3 separate regions of the Homo sapiens genome follow, and all the other regions are linked to region 1. Evidence: promoter capture Hi-C in 16 types of primary human blood cells and fetal thymus (Javierre and others, 2016). All regions are on one chromosome and are shown on one strand. Each heading gives the region's core, a stretch centred on a gene start or on the middle of the fragment in contact. The rest is flanking DNA. Distances are from core to core; before and after follow the strand shown. Region 1 holds the start of JPH1 (junctophilin 1). Region 2 has its middle 93 kb from the start of LY96. Region 3 has its middle 120 kb from the start of LY96.

Region 1 (3,839 bases), core at 983-3,482:
CACAGGAAAAGAGTAAGCAATAAATGGCCATGTCTTTTTTCCTCCCCAAATCTTCATATTCAATCCAGATGTGTGTGCACCTCCCACCACAAATAGACTAGATATCCATTACAGAAGCCAGAAACTTGGTTTGTGCTCTGTGTTCCAGAAAATCCCTCATTTGCATGACAACTAATTAGGAAGAGTAATAAATAAAGAGATAAAGGTTTCCAAAATTTATCCCCTTAAAGAACATATATGGGTCCTAACACACTGGGTGGATCCAAAAAAAAAAAAAAGGCAAAGGGACAAAGACTACTCTATGAGGAAGTCTAGTTTAGAAAGAGACTCCCCCATTCAAAATATTGGCTTGAGCAACCACACTTTTTCTCATATCATACAGAACCTCAAAATATATGGGAATGCATCTTTCTACATTAGCTCCTGATTCTGGTGTATCCCATAACAGGGAAATGGAATTATGGCTCAGCCGCAAAGCCCTGGCCCTCATCTTCCCAGCGGCCTAAATCAATCCCCAGTCCAGGACAAGATGCTTCGAGAGATGCATAATTATTTCAGGCCACTAGGGTAAGCACTATTCCTGGCAACTCTGCGGGCAGTGCCATGGATGAGGGCTTCTAATTCTCTTTGGTGATTTGGTTCTGCATAAACTGAGATTTTTCTTTCAGTCTTTCAGCCAGATAAGTAGGAAAGGTCGGCTCTCGTCCTGAGAGAGAGGCAATCAAGGTCAATTTCAGTTCCTTTTCTGTGCAGTTTAGTCTACTTTTTCCCAGGCTGTCTTCCTGACACCTGTCCTTATATCTATATCTGATTATCAAATACTTAGTGAGAGAACCTTTGGCAGCTTCTGATGCTCGCATAGTCACCCAAAGGCCTCTCAGCCTAAGAAATAGCAGGAATACACTCCAAATCAGTTTCCTTGAGAGGCCAAACTAAGACCCTAGGCTGTGAAAGTGGGAGAAGTTTCTCCCGTGGGTATTTTGAGGGTGAGGTGGAGAATAATGCTTTCTCTCACCAGAGGCAATGCTGATCCAACTTGCCTATTACCAAATCTCTAATTTTTGGTTTGGCACTGCAGCCACAATATACTCAGTTATTACCGAATATAGAAAGAGAAAGGCAAATCTTGTTAGTCCCATTCAGAAGATGGTGAAATGGAGGTTTAAAAGTTTAGAAGAGTTGCCTAAAGTGAATTCGACAAAGCAGTGTTGTAGCTAGAAAGTAGACCAGCTGACATCTGTCCCTGGTTTTGTAGGTCACAGTTTCTTTGCAAGTTTAGAGCAGTGCTTTACTTACCATATTCCTCCTTGCAAACCTCTATTTACTTTCTTAAACAGTGGATACCAGTGGAGAGGTGTGCATTCCAGACACTTATACAATGTACACAGACCGAGCCGTCTACCTGTTGGGCACACAGCTCCAGGCTCAAGAATCTCTAAGGCTGTTAAGAAGCACAAACGAGGCACGAGAGGGGGCAGGCTCTAATGTAAAAGGAATATCCTGTACCACTGCAAAGGCCGATTGAAAACATCCTCTTCATCACTATTAATAAAAAACTAACCAATATATTCTGTGCTTTTTCAAACTGTACTGCTCACCCTCAGTGTCTTCATTAAATAAATGCAAACACGTGTGCTTTGAAACGGGTAGGTGTAAAAGAACACTCTGCACAATTATATCTAGGCTGCCGCAGATTTACATCACATGCATACATATATCTAGGCGATATTAATTCACGATGACAGCTGAGCATGACAAATGCAACAGTACACAAGTTGGAATGCGAAAACAATGCAACTACAAACCCCATGCAGACAAACACGCATACAATGAGTTTTCCCTCAACACACACGTGGCCGCACTCACAGGAGCTTAACCACTTTGAAAAACCCCAAACACAAACACCGGGGGCTCCGGCGCCCGCGAGCGGCCCCCACACAGGCAGCCGCGCCTTCATCTCCAGGCAGGGATTCTCGTGCGTCCCCGGGTACACTCGCCCTCCCACCGGCATCCCACTGCGCGAACACATGCGCGCCAGCCGGTCCCCGCGCGCGCCCGCCTGCCGAGGAAGCGGCGGCTCCCGGGGCTGGGGGCAGGGCCCGGTGGGGCGGGAGCGCCGCGGGGCCGGGCCTCGGCGCCCGGGGAGGGGACGAGGGGCGGGCGCGGGGCGGTGCCCGGCTCACGTGGGCGGGCGGGAGCAGCTGAAGGTCCGCTCGGGAACCTGGGCTGTCCTCTCGCGCGCGGCGCTGGCCCAGGCGGCGGCGGCGAAGGAGGAGGAGGAGGAGGAGGAAGGCGGCGGTGGCGGCGGCAAAAGAGGAGGGAGGACGGGGGCGGCGTCGGACTGGAGCCGAGCGGCAGCGCGAGCTGCCCAGGGCGCTGTCGTGAGCTCGCCCGCCGGGCCCCCACCCCCGAGCTACACCCTGCCGTGCCCAGCACTGCCCGCGTCCGTGCCCCTGCGGGGAGCGCGCCGGGGCTGCCCCCCGAATGACGGGCGGAAGGTTCGACTTCGACGATGGCGGCACCTACTGCGGCGGCTGGGAGGAGGGCAAGGCGCACGGGCATGGCATCTGCACGGGGCCCAAGGGCCAGGGCGAGTACTCGGGCTCCTGGTCGCACGGCTTCGAGGTGGTCGGAGGCTACACCTGGCCCAGCGGCAACACCTACCAGGGCTACTGGGCGCAGGGCAAGCGGCACGGGCTGGGGGTGGAGACGAAGGGCAAGTGGATGTACCGGGGGGAGTGGTCACATGGTTTCAAGGGGCGCTACGGGGTCCGGCAGAGCCTGTGCACCCCCGCTCGCTACGAGGGTACCTGGAGTAACGGGCTGCAAGACGGGTACGGCGTGGAGACCTACGGGGACGGAGGTGAGCGGCGTAACGGGCGGCTCGGCTGCTCCGCGAGCTGGTGCGGTGGGCTCTGCCCCGGCTGCGGGGAAGCGGGGAGGACGCCGGGCGCACGTGTCCGGAAACCCGCCAAAACACCTGGGGGCGCCTCCCACCCCCGCGCCCGCGCCCGCCTTTCCCAGAGAGGGCGCTGGGACCGGACTGGGGCGCGAGGGCTGGATCTGACCCCGTTCTTGGAGCGGGCCGTGTATCCACACTCAGGGGAGCTAGGCGTGAATGTACCTGGCCGGCGCCAGCGCTGCGCTGCCACCGGGAGGGAGCGCCGCCCGGGAGGGTTGGGCTGGAGAGAGGACGCTGTCACTTGAGCCCGTCACATTACGTTCCTGATCCCTCCCTCTCCCGGCCGGGTTTGAAATCGCCACTCCCGTGGAGTTAGAGCGAACACCCTGAGCGGGTGAGGTTGGCGGTCCGTGCTGACCGCTCCCGGGATTGGTTTCACGTGGAGTCGTATTTCGCTTCTGGTCCTCCAGTAGCCTAAAGATAGAAGCCAGAACCCCGTAACTAGGATGTTGGGGAATTGTACCTTATTTGGGGGTGCATTTGGAAACGTCCTAGTTATGGGAGCAGAAAGGCCACCTGATGCAGGTGGAGTTCAGAGTGTGTGAGTTCCTAGTTTTCATTCCGTTTCTTAAAGTATTGGTCTTAAAAGAGTAGCAGTCTTTGCTGACCTGGAGATCTTGGACAAATTACTAGGAAGATATTTTAGAAATGGGTAATGAAGTCTACATTTTAAAGAATACAATTAGCAGGTGTGTTCCTATAGCTGCTAAGTTAGCAGCTACTACTCCTGAGAATGGCAATACTGAAACAATAATTTGCATTATGTGTGACCTAAGCCAGTATTCCTGGCTGTGAACAAAGATCACCTTATTTTAATATTTAACAATATTTGCCAAAGAGATTGTGTATATACCAGGACAGAAGTTCCTCTTTTATT
Region 2 (3,839 bases), core at 470-2,969, 240 kb after region 1:
GGCTGGGAGGGGGGTGGTTGGGGAGATCTTGGTCAGAGGGTACAAACTTTCAGTTATAAGATGAATATGTCCTAGGGATCTAATTTACCGCAGGGTGACTCTAGTTAACAATACTGTATTATGTATTTGAAATTTGCTGACAGTAGACCCTAAATGTTCTTGCTACACACACACACACAAATGGTAACTAGGGTGAGGTGACAGATATGCTAACTAACTTGATTGTGGTAATGATTTCACAATGTATATGTATATCAAATCAACACATTGTACCTCTCAAACTTTCACAATTTTATTTGTCAATTATACCGCAATGAAGTTGGAAAAAATTAAATTTAAAAAAAGATCCAGGAGAAGAACAGTAGATGCAAATCTCTGAAATAGAAAGGAGTCTTGGCATGCTTGAGGAACAGGAAAAAGGCCAGTGTGACTGGAACAAGTGAACAAGAGGAAGGCAGAGTTGGAAAAGCAGAAAGGAGCTGGCTGCGGCAAAGGCATCACTATTGCTGCAGTGGCAGAGAACTATTTTCAACAATGACACTCCGGTGACAAATCTTTGGTTTCGTGGGTGATTGGCAGGCTCTTCTGTACACACTGACACAATGAGTAACTTGGGTCTGTCTAGTGGAAGATTTCAACCTTGGGAAGCCATCCTCTCCCCTAAAGCCTTTTCTCCTTGTTCAAGATGTCTGAAACTATACCAAGAAGGCAGAAAAGGATGTGATTCCTCTGTGATTCCAGAATAAGATGTCTGGCTTTGAAACCAGACAATCATAGGTTTTAGTTTCAGCTCTGTCACCTTTTAGTTGGCAAGTTATTGAAACAACCTGAGCTTTGTTTCCACATCTGTAAAATGGGAATAACATAGACTATCTTACTCACAGGGTTGTTGTAGGCATTTTGTGAGACAACACACATAAATCATTTACTGCCGCAGCTGGCATATAATAGTAGCTGCATACAAATGTTATTCTTATCCAAGAAGCTTCATTTCTCTCATTTAACATGTTGATGGAAGTTAAACAGAAAGTCTATCTGGAGTAATCACACCGTAACCTGTTATTTGTCATTTGTACTTTAGTGTGAATGAGTCTGCAATTCTTTCTCCAAAGCTCTACAAAGTTGAATTTAAGAGAAAGAGAGGGCTGGGTGCGGTGGCTCACGCCTGTAATCCCAGCACTTTGGGAGGTCAAGGCAGGCGGATCACTTGAGGTCAGGAGTTTGAGACCAGCCTGGCCAACATGGTGAAACCCCATCTCTACTAAAAATACAAAAAATTAGCCGGGCGTGGTGGCAGGCGCCTGTAATCCCAGCTACTCGGGAGGCTGAGGCAGGAGAATCGCTTGAATCTGGGAGGCAGAAGTTGCAGTGAGCCGAGATTGTGCCACTGTACTCCAGCCTGGGCAACAGAGCGAGACTCTATCTCAAAAAAAGAAAAAAGAGAGAGAGAGATTGAAAGACAGACCAAGATTCCGGATTACAGATGCGGCCAGAGGAAAGAGGAGAAAACTAGTTGGGGAAGAAGGGGTACAATCTCTGAAGTCTTCAGTGTTTAAATTCCTTAAAAACTATTAATAAAGGGAAAGAAGCCAGCATTAATTCTGACTTTCCTGTACAAACTGCACTTCAGAGTTACAAATGCTTATAAGAGAAGTTTCTCTTCCAGACCAGTATTCTGGCTAAGGCGTAGGAAGCAAAGATAGAACTGGAGTATTACCACTGAGCAACCTCTAATGAGCTAAGGGACTGAGTTAATCCGTGCATCAGGACTGCTCACATCATAGAAGGAGAGAGAACTCAGCATTTTGTGTCTCCAGATAGAAGTACACACACTACCACCTATGAGATATTTCTGCCCTAAACTCAAGCTAAATGTTTACATCTAACTATCATTTTGATAGCAATACAGAGAACAGAGGAACAGGTTAAACATCACGAGGAAGCAATCAGCAAAATCCAGACTATGGGAAACTCTACTGGAGAAAACATCCAGTTTCTTCAACAAATAAATTGCAACGAAACAAAAAAAAAAAAAGAGCATGAGGGGAAACCTGTAGATTAGAAAAGTTTTGGCTGGACACAGTGGCTCACGCCTGTAATCTCAGCACTTTGGGAGGCCAAGGTGGAAGGATCATTTGAGCCCAGGAATTCTAGACAAGCCTCGACAACATAGTGAGACCCCATCTCTAAAAAAAAAAATTAGCCAGGCATGGGGGCACATGCCTGTGGTCCCAGCTACTCAGGAGGCTAAGGCAGGAGGATCACTCCAGCCCGAGAGGTCAAGGCTGCAGTGAGCAGTGATTTTTGCCACTGCACTTCACCCTGGGTGACACAGCAAGACCTTGTCTCAAAAAAAAGAAAGAAAAGATTTAAGTGGTATCCCAACCAATCACAACATAGGCACCTATCAAAAATCCTGATTCAGACAAACCAACTATAAAAGTAAAAGCTTATAATAAAATCAGTGAAATGTGACTGGATATCTGATAATATTAAGGAATTGCCAATAATTTTTTAGGTGTGGTCATCATATTACAGTTACTTTTTAAAGAGTCATGGCTTATGCCTGTAATCTCAGCACTCTGGGAGGCCAAGGCAGGTGGATCACAAGGTCAGGAGTTCGAGACCAACCTGGCCAACATGGTGAAACCCCATCTCTACTAAAAATACAAAAAATTAGCCAGGTGTGGTGGCGGGCGCCTGTAATCTCAGCTACTTGGGAGGCTGAGGCATGAGAATTGCTTGAACTGGGGAGGTGGAGGTTGCAGTGAGCTGAGACCATGCCACTGCACTCCAGCCTGGGCAACAGAACAAGACTACGTCTCAAAAAAATAAAAATTAAAAAATAAAGAGTCCTTAACTTTCAGAGATATATGCTGGAATATTTACACATATTTGCATTTATGATATGTGTATTTATAGATATATATTTACATATATAGATACATATAAACATCTGTATAATACCTGGAACTTACTTCAAATTAATCCAGCAGGGGGACGGGGAAAATGGGTTCAGGACACACTACCCCAAAATATGACACCTTGGCATTTGAGAAAACAACAGAAGCAGGAAGTCCTCTCTCACCTTTCCCTCAGCCTTCTCCCCTGAAGCAGATCACAAATCCCTCATTTGAAAAGTACCCTTCCTATACCTGGGGTGAAAGGAACATCCTTACCTCTGAAGACACAGGGACACAGAGAGGAACCTGAACAAACAGGCCTTGCTAAGTTTCCCCCTAGCTTATTATCATTCAGTCACATCCTTCTGCCCTCCAGTCATATTTCGCCATGACGGTCCATGCTCCATCAAACCTAAGCATAGCAATACACAAGTGCACCTGTTTACTTGAATCTTCATTTCCTTAAGAAGTCTCCCCTTCATATAAAACTTATATCAAATAAATGTGTATGCCTTTTGCTTGTTAATCTTATTTTGTTATAGGAGCCTCAGCTATGAACCTACGATGGGTGAGAAAAGGAAATCTTTCCGCCCCTGCAGGTGTTTGGGGTTTTTTTAAATAACAATACAATAATAAAAACTAAAATAAAATCAGAAAAGTGTTTAAATAACTTCAAAATTTTTCTTAAGTTTCTGTTACCTGCACACATTGCACTGGTAGGCAAGGGCTCCATGAGTTGGAAGCATTTGAAAGCCTTTACGTGGACATGACCACAGTCATGAGGATGGCCAGTATTTATTGATAACCTATACAATCTAAGTCCAATCTAGGAACATGCTCAACCAGAAGAAAAATGGTGCAATTGCATGAAAACCAAAATCCAGAAAGAAGATAAAGAAAGAGTCACTCACTGTGAGTTCCTTGCAACTCTGTTTT
Region 3 (3,839 bases), core at 388-2,887, 210 kb after region 1:
CTCATTAAACATTCAAGTGAATAAATTAGTAAGTGATAAAATACAAATATCTGTGAGACAGGACAAACTATAAGTAGCATAAGAACAGGTCACCACACACAAGGAAAAACAAGCAGGGCTGAAATCCAGTCTGCACAGAGCTGGCACAGAGCTACCTTAACCCAGACCCAGAGCAAGGGGTACTTTTTTGTAATTGGTCCAATCAGCAGGGTTCCTTTTTGTAATATGCACAAAGAAATGGTATATTCTAGCAGACGGCCTTGCATAACAAAAAGATATGACCTAAGTACTTTAGGCAGCAAAATTTAAAAGAGAAAGTCCATATTAGCTTGGAGATGTTAAAGAAAGACTTCAGCTAGTAGAGGTCTTCTGATTACATTTATCATGAGATAAATGCATTGCTATTCAGTTGTTTACTTACATCATCTTTACCGTTTTTTAATTTTCTGTAAGGATGTAGCAGGGTATTTTTAGCCAAGCCTACATAACCTCAGACGGATCACAATAGGATTATTTTCAACCCTGGTCCAATTCATTGAGGACTAACTTAGTCTACACAAGCAGTAATGGGAGATGCTTTCAAATTCTTAATACATGACTCAGCTGTGTAAATAAGTGGTGGCAAATGAAGCCGACCAAATTTTTCAGGTGTTCTGATTTGGTCACCTGAAGTGTACAAGGACTCATACAAAGCTTGAGCCCTTTCTATTTAAAAAAAAAAAAAAAAAGTACAAGACCAATAAATAATTGGTTTAGGTTGCTAAACCGAGATCTAAATACTCTGAGATAAACAATTAAATACATAAATAGCAATGCCATGTATGCTTTAATCCCATCTTAAACCTTAAAAAACAGTGCAGAAAAATAATGCCAAAAGCTTAAGTAAAAATTGCTGTCAATAAGACAAATCAAGGATTAACTCCACTAAAATACTTTCCTTTATTTGGGAAATCCAGTTTCATTTCAATTACTTATAGGAAATGCTGAATCTGATTTTTTTTCAACGGTAATTTAAAACAAAATCTTTGTGATAGACTAAAATGCTCTGGTATTAGCATTTGTGAGACTCTCGGATACTTAGTAAAAATTACAGGGTTTGAGGTTTAGTGAAAGGAGAATTAGTGAGCCTTCACATTCATAAAGAAGAGTTTATTTTAAGATTTCCATAGCAAAAGTGGATTACTCAATAGAGAACTCACACACTTTAATGATTGTATCTGACCAGGCCTTTCAGCAACAAATAAGGCAGCTTTTCTTACTGTGCTTGTCTGGGTTAATTTAAACCACACCTGTTAAGAAGAGTGCCTAGAGAATTTCTGCAAGTTTTGACCCGCATCTCCTCATTTAGAGCTAATTAGAGTGTTTCTATATCATATTTATGTCTGGGGTTCCAGAACCCTCTAATGGGGAGCAAAGCACATTTGCCATCTTATGGGTCACTCCCTGGAGAAAATGTCTCCTATTACCTTCTCTCTGATACTCAACCTTTTTTTTTTTCCCTTGCATAATGGAAAGAACATTGTTTTGAGTCAGGCTGTTTTGGATTCAGATTCCAATATTTCCATTTTTTTAAGCTGTGCAAACTCTAAGATCCTGTTTCCCCATTTATAAAATGGGCTAATAATAACTTTTATGGGACTGTTATCAGGTATATCAAAAATGCATATAAAGTGTCTATTTTAGTACCAGGCATTTAGTAAGTAGTAGTAACAATAAAAATAGTAGTCATCAATATCCTTGCCATTATTATTATAATTACTCCTATCCGGACTTCTAAGATACCAATTTGATTTCAAGAACCTGCAGTGGTTAGGAAGTTAAATTATTCAAAGTTATTCAGGAAGGCAGGGTGAATCACTAGTGAGTCAGTAGTATTTTATTCAATGATATGTAGACTAGTGATGGTAAGAGAGGCTTTTTGAAGCCATTTTACTATATAAAACATATGTATAATTAAACAGGATTCTTTCCCAACTGCAGTCAGAGAACTGCTACAGATCAGAATTTAAATAAGATCTGTGAAACCTAAATAACCCTCAGAGCACTGCAGAAATGAGGTTTTCATTTGTTAATGTTGATCCAAGTCTTAACATACTCTGTGAGCAATGGACAGCTTTCAATATTGCCTAAAAAATAAAATCTCCAGAAAATGATTTTTGCCACTTTGGTTGCTGTCATTGTTGCCATTATTCATTTAAATATCAATTATATCTTTTCTGTCACATAAACAAAATGTCCAAATCACTTGAAACAGCTATATCCACGCACATCTTGGGTAAACATTGCAATAACAGATGGTTTAAGGGGCCTATCCTATAGAACCATAAATCCCAACATTCCGGCCATATTATAATATCCGTGTTGGAATGAAGTCACATGAAGAATTAGAAAAGCTTTCACACAGTGATTAATACATTGTATTTTCTAACATTTCCTACCTTTCTTCTTCCCATGACTTTCTGAAACTGTTATCTAACAGCAAATAATTTGCCCCATTCTTTCAAGATGTCAGATGCCATGTTTTTTTATTTGAATGATTTGATCTAAGAAAAGTGGCTTGGAAAAGCATTAGTAATGTCAGGTTTTATAACAAACCATGTGGGTGGAAGGTTTTGTTGGGTTGGATTTTTTTTTTTTTTTTTTTGGCTGACAGCAAACAAGTCTATCTGAAAACATACTAAGCTCCAGCAGGTGCCCAGAGCTAATTTGGTTTGGAACTATTTTTAAAAACCACCAGCTAAGTTTTATAACAAGTCATACCAAATGGCTATATTGTTTTTTGTTTTCCTGCAATCCAGGGGCCAGTTTTTCAAACATGACTCTAAACCTGAGGCCGCAAATTATTCCTGTACTAAGCAGATCTAAAATGCCCAGATTTTAGATCCTTAAGCCTTCTCATCGATCCCTAGAAACAAAACATTTAGAGCTTTGCACTTAAGTTTCTACCGAACACATTCCTTCATGAGTTCTCTGCATTTCCTATCAGTAGTTTTCATTTAAATCTAGTGAGTTTGAGCTCTTGCCGGCAAAGATGATGTGAAATGCTTCCCAGCAGCCAGATGCAGCTGGATTTGTGGATTCAGCTGCCTGCTGATGGCATGTGTTTTGGCTTCAGGCTATCACAATGGATGTTTACTGTCCCTATGGAATCTCATGGCAGTCCTGTCAATTGGCATTCTTCTCCTAACGCTTCTGGATTAAACACCCACTTAGGTGTGGTGTCTGCAAAACCTTCAGCTTTGAATCTCTCTGAGACATCCATTTAGCCTGGACTTTCCTTTCTCAAATACAGAAGTGTTGTTTGGATTAAGATATAAGTATTGAATTTTCGAATCTGCTTTTTTGTTTTATCTCTACATACAGGTAGAGAAATCACTAATGTACTGCCTAGAGTCAAAGTATATATTTGTTTTAGGCCGGATGCGGTGGCTCACACCTGTAATTCCAGCACTTTGGCAGGCCACAGTAGATGGATCGTTTGAGCTCAGGAGTTCGAGATCAGCCTGGGCTACACAGCGAAACCCCATCACTACAAAAATACAAAAAAAAAAAAAAGAATTAGCCGTGTGTTGGTGGCCTGTAGTCCTAGCTACTTGGGAGGCAGAGACTGCAGTGAGCTGAGATCACACAACTGCACTCTAGCCTGGGTGACAGAGTAAGACCCCCATCTCAAAAAAAAAGAATATATATATGTATATAAATTATATACACAAATATATATGATTTGTTCTTCTATTGAGACAGCAGATGTCATACCAAGAACAAGAGTTTTGGAATCAGCCTGACCTGGATTTGAATTCCAGCCAGGTCAGTTGGCAGCGTGTAATCTTGGGTAAGTT

The links. Contacts are between HindIII fragments. The CHiCAGO score rates a contact against its expected background, and 5 or more counts as called.
Region 2: a contact is called between a fragment that was not itself captured here and the fragment with the promoter of JPH1 in region 1, in 1 of 17 cell types (endothelial precursors). The highest score is 6.5, in endothelial precursors.
Region 3: a contact is called between a fragment that was not itself captured here and the fragment with the promoter of JPH1 in region 1, in 1 of 17 cell types (endothelial precursors). The highest score is 5.7, in endothelial precursors.

The regions. Positions count from the first base shown.
Region 1 is chr8:74,319,933-74,323,771 of GRCh38, reverse strand. JPH1 (junctophilin 1) reads left to right here and starts at 2,232. Exons shown (of 6, transcript NM_020647.4): 1 at 2,232-2,863. The coding sequence starts at 2,485. RefSeq lists a silencer at 2,082-2,181 and an enhancer at 2,275-3,165. The HindIII fragment of the contact is 5,373 bases long and covers 1-3,839 here.
Region 2 is chr8:74,082,219-74,086,057 of GRCh38, reverse strand. It overlaps a transcript of LY96 not described here. Among named protein-coding and RNA genes, the nearest start is that of LY96, 93 kb to the right of the region's middle. The HindIII fragment of the contact is 1,464 bases long and covers 988-2,451 here.
Region 3 is chr8:74,108,130-74,111,968 of GRCh38, reverse strand. No RefSeq gene overlaps it. Among named protein-coding and RNA genes, the nearest start is that of LY96, 120 kb to the right of the region's middle. The HindIII fragment of the contact is 1,516 bases long and covers 880-2,395 here.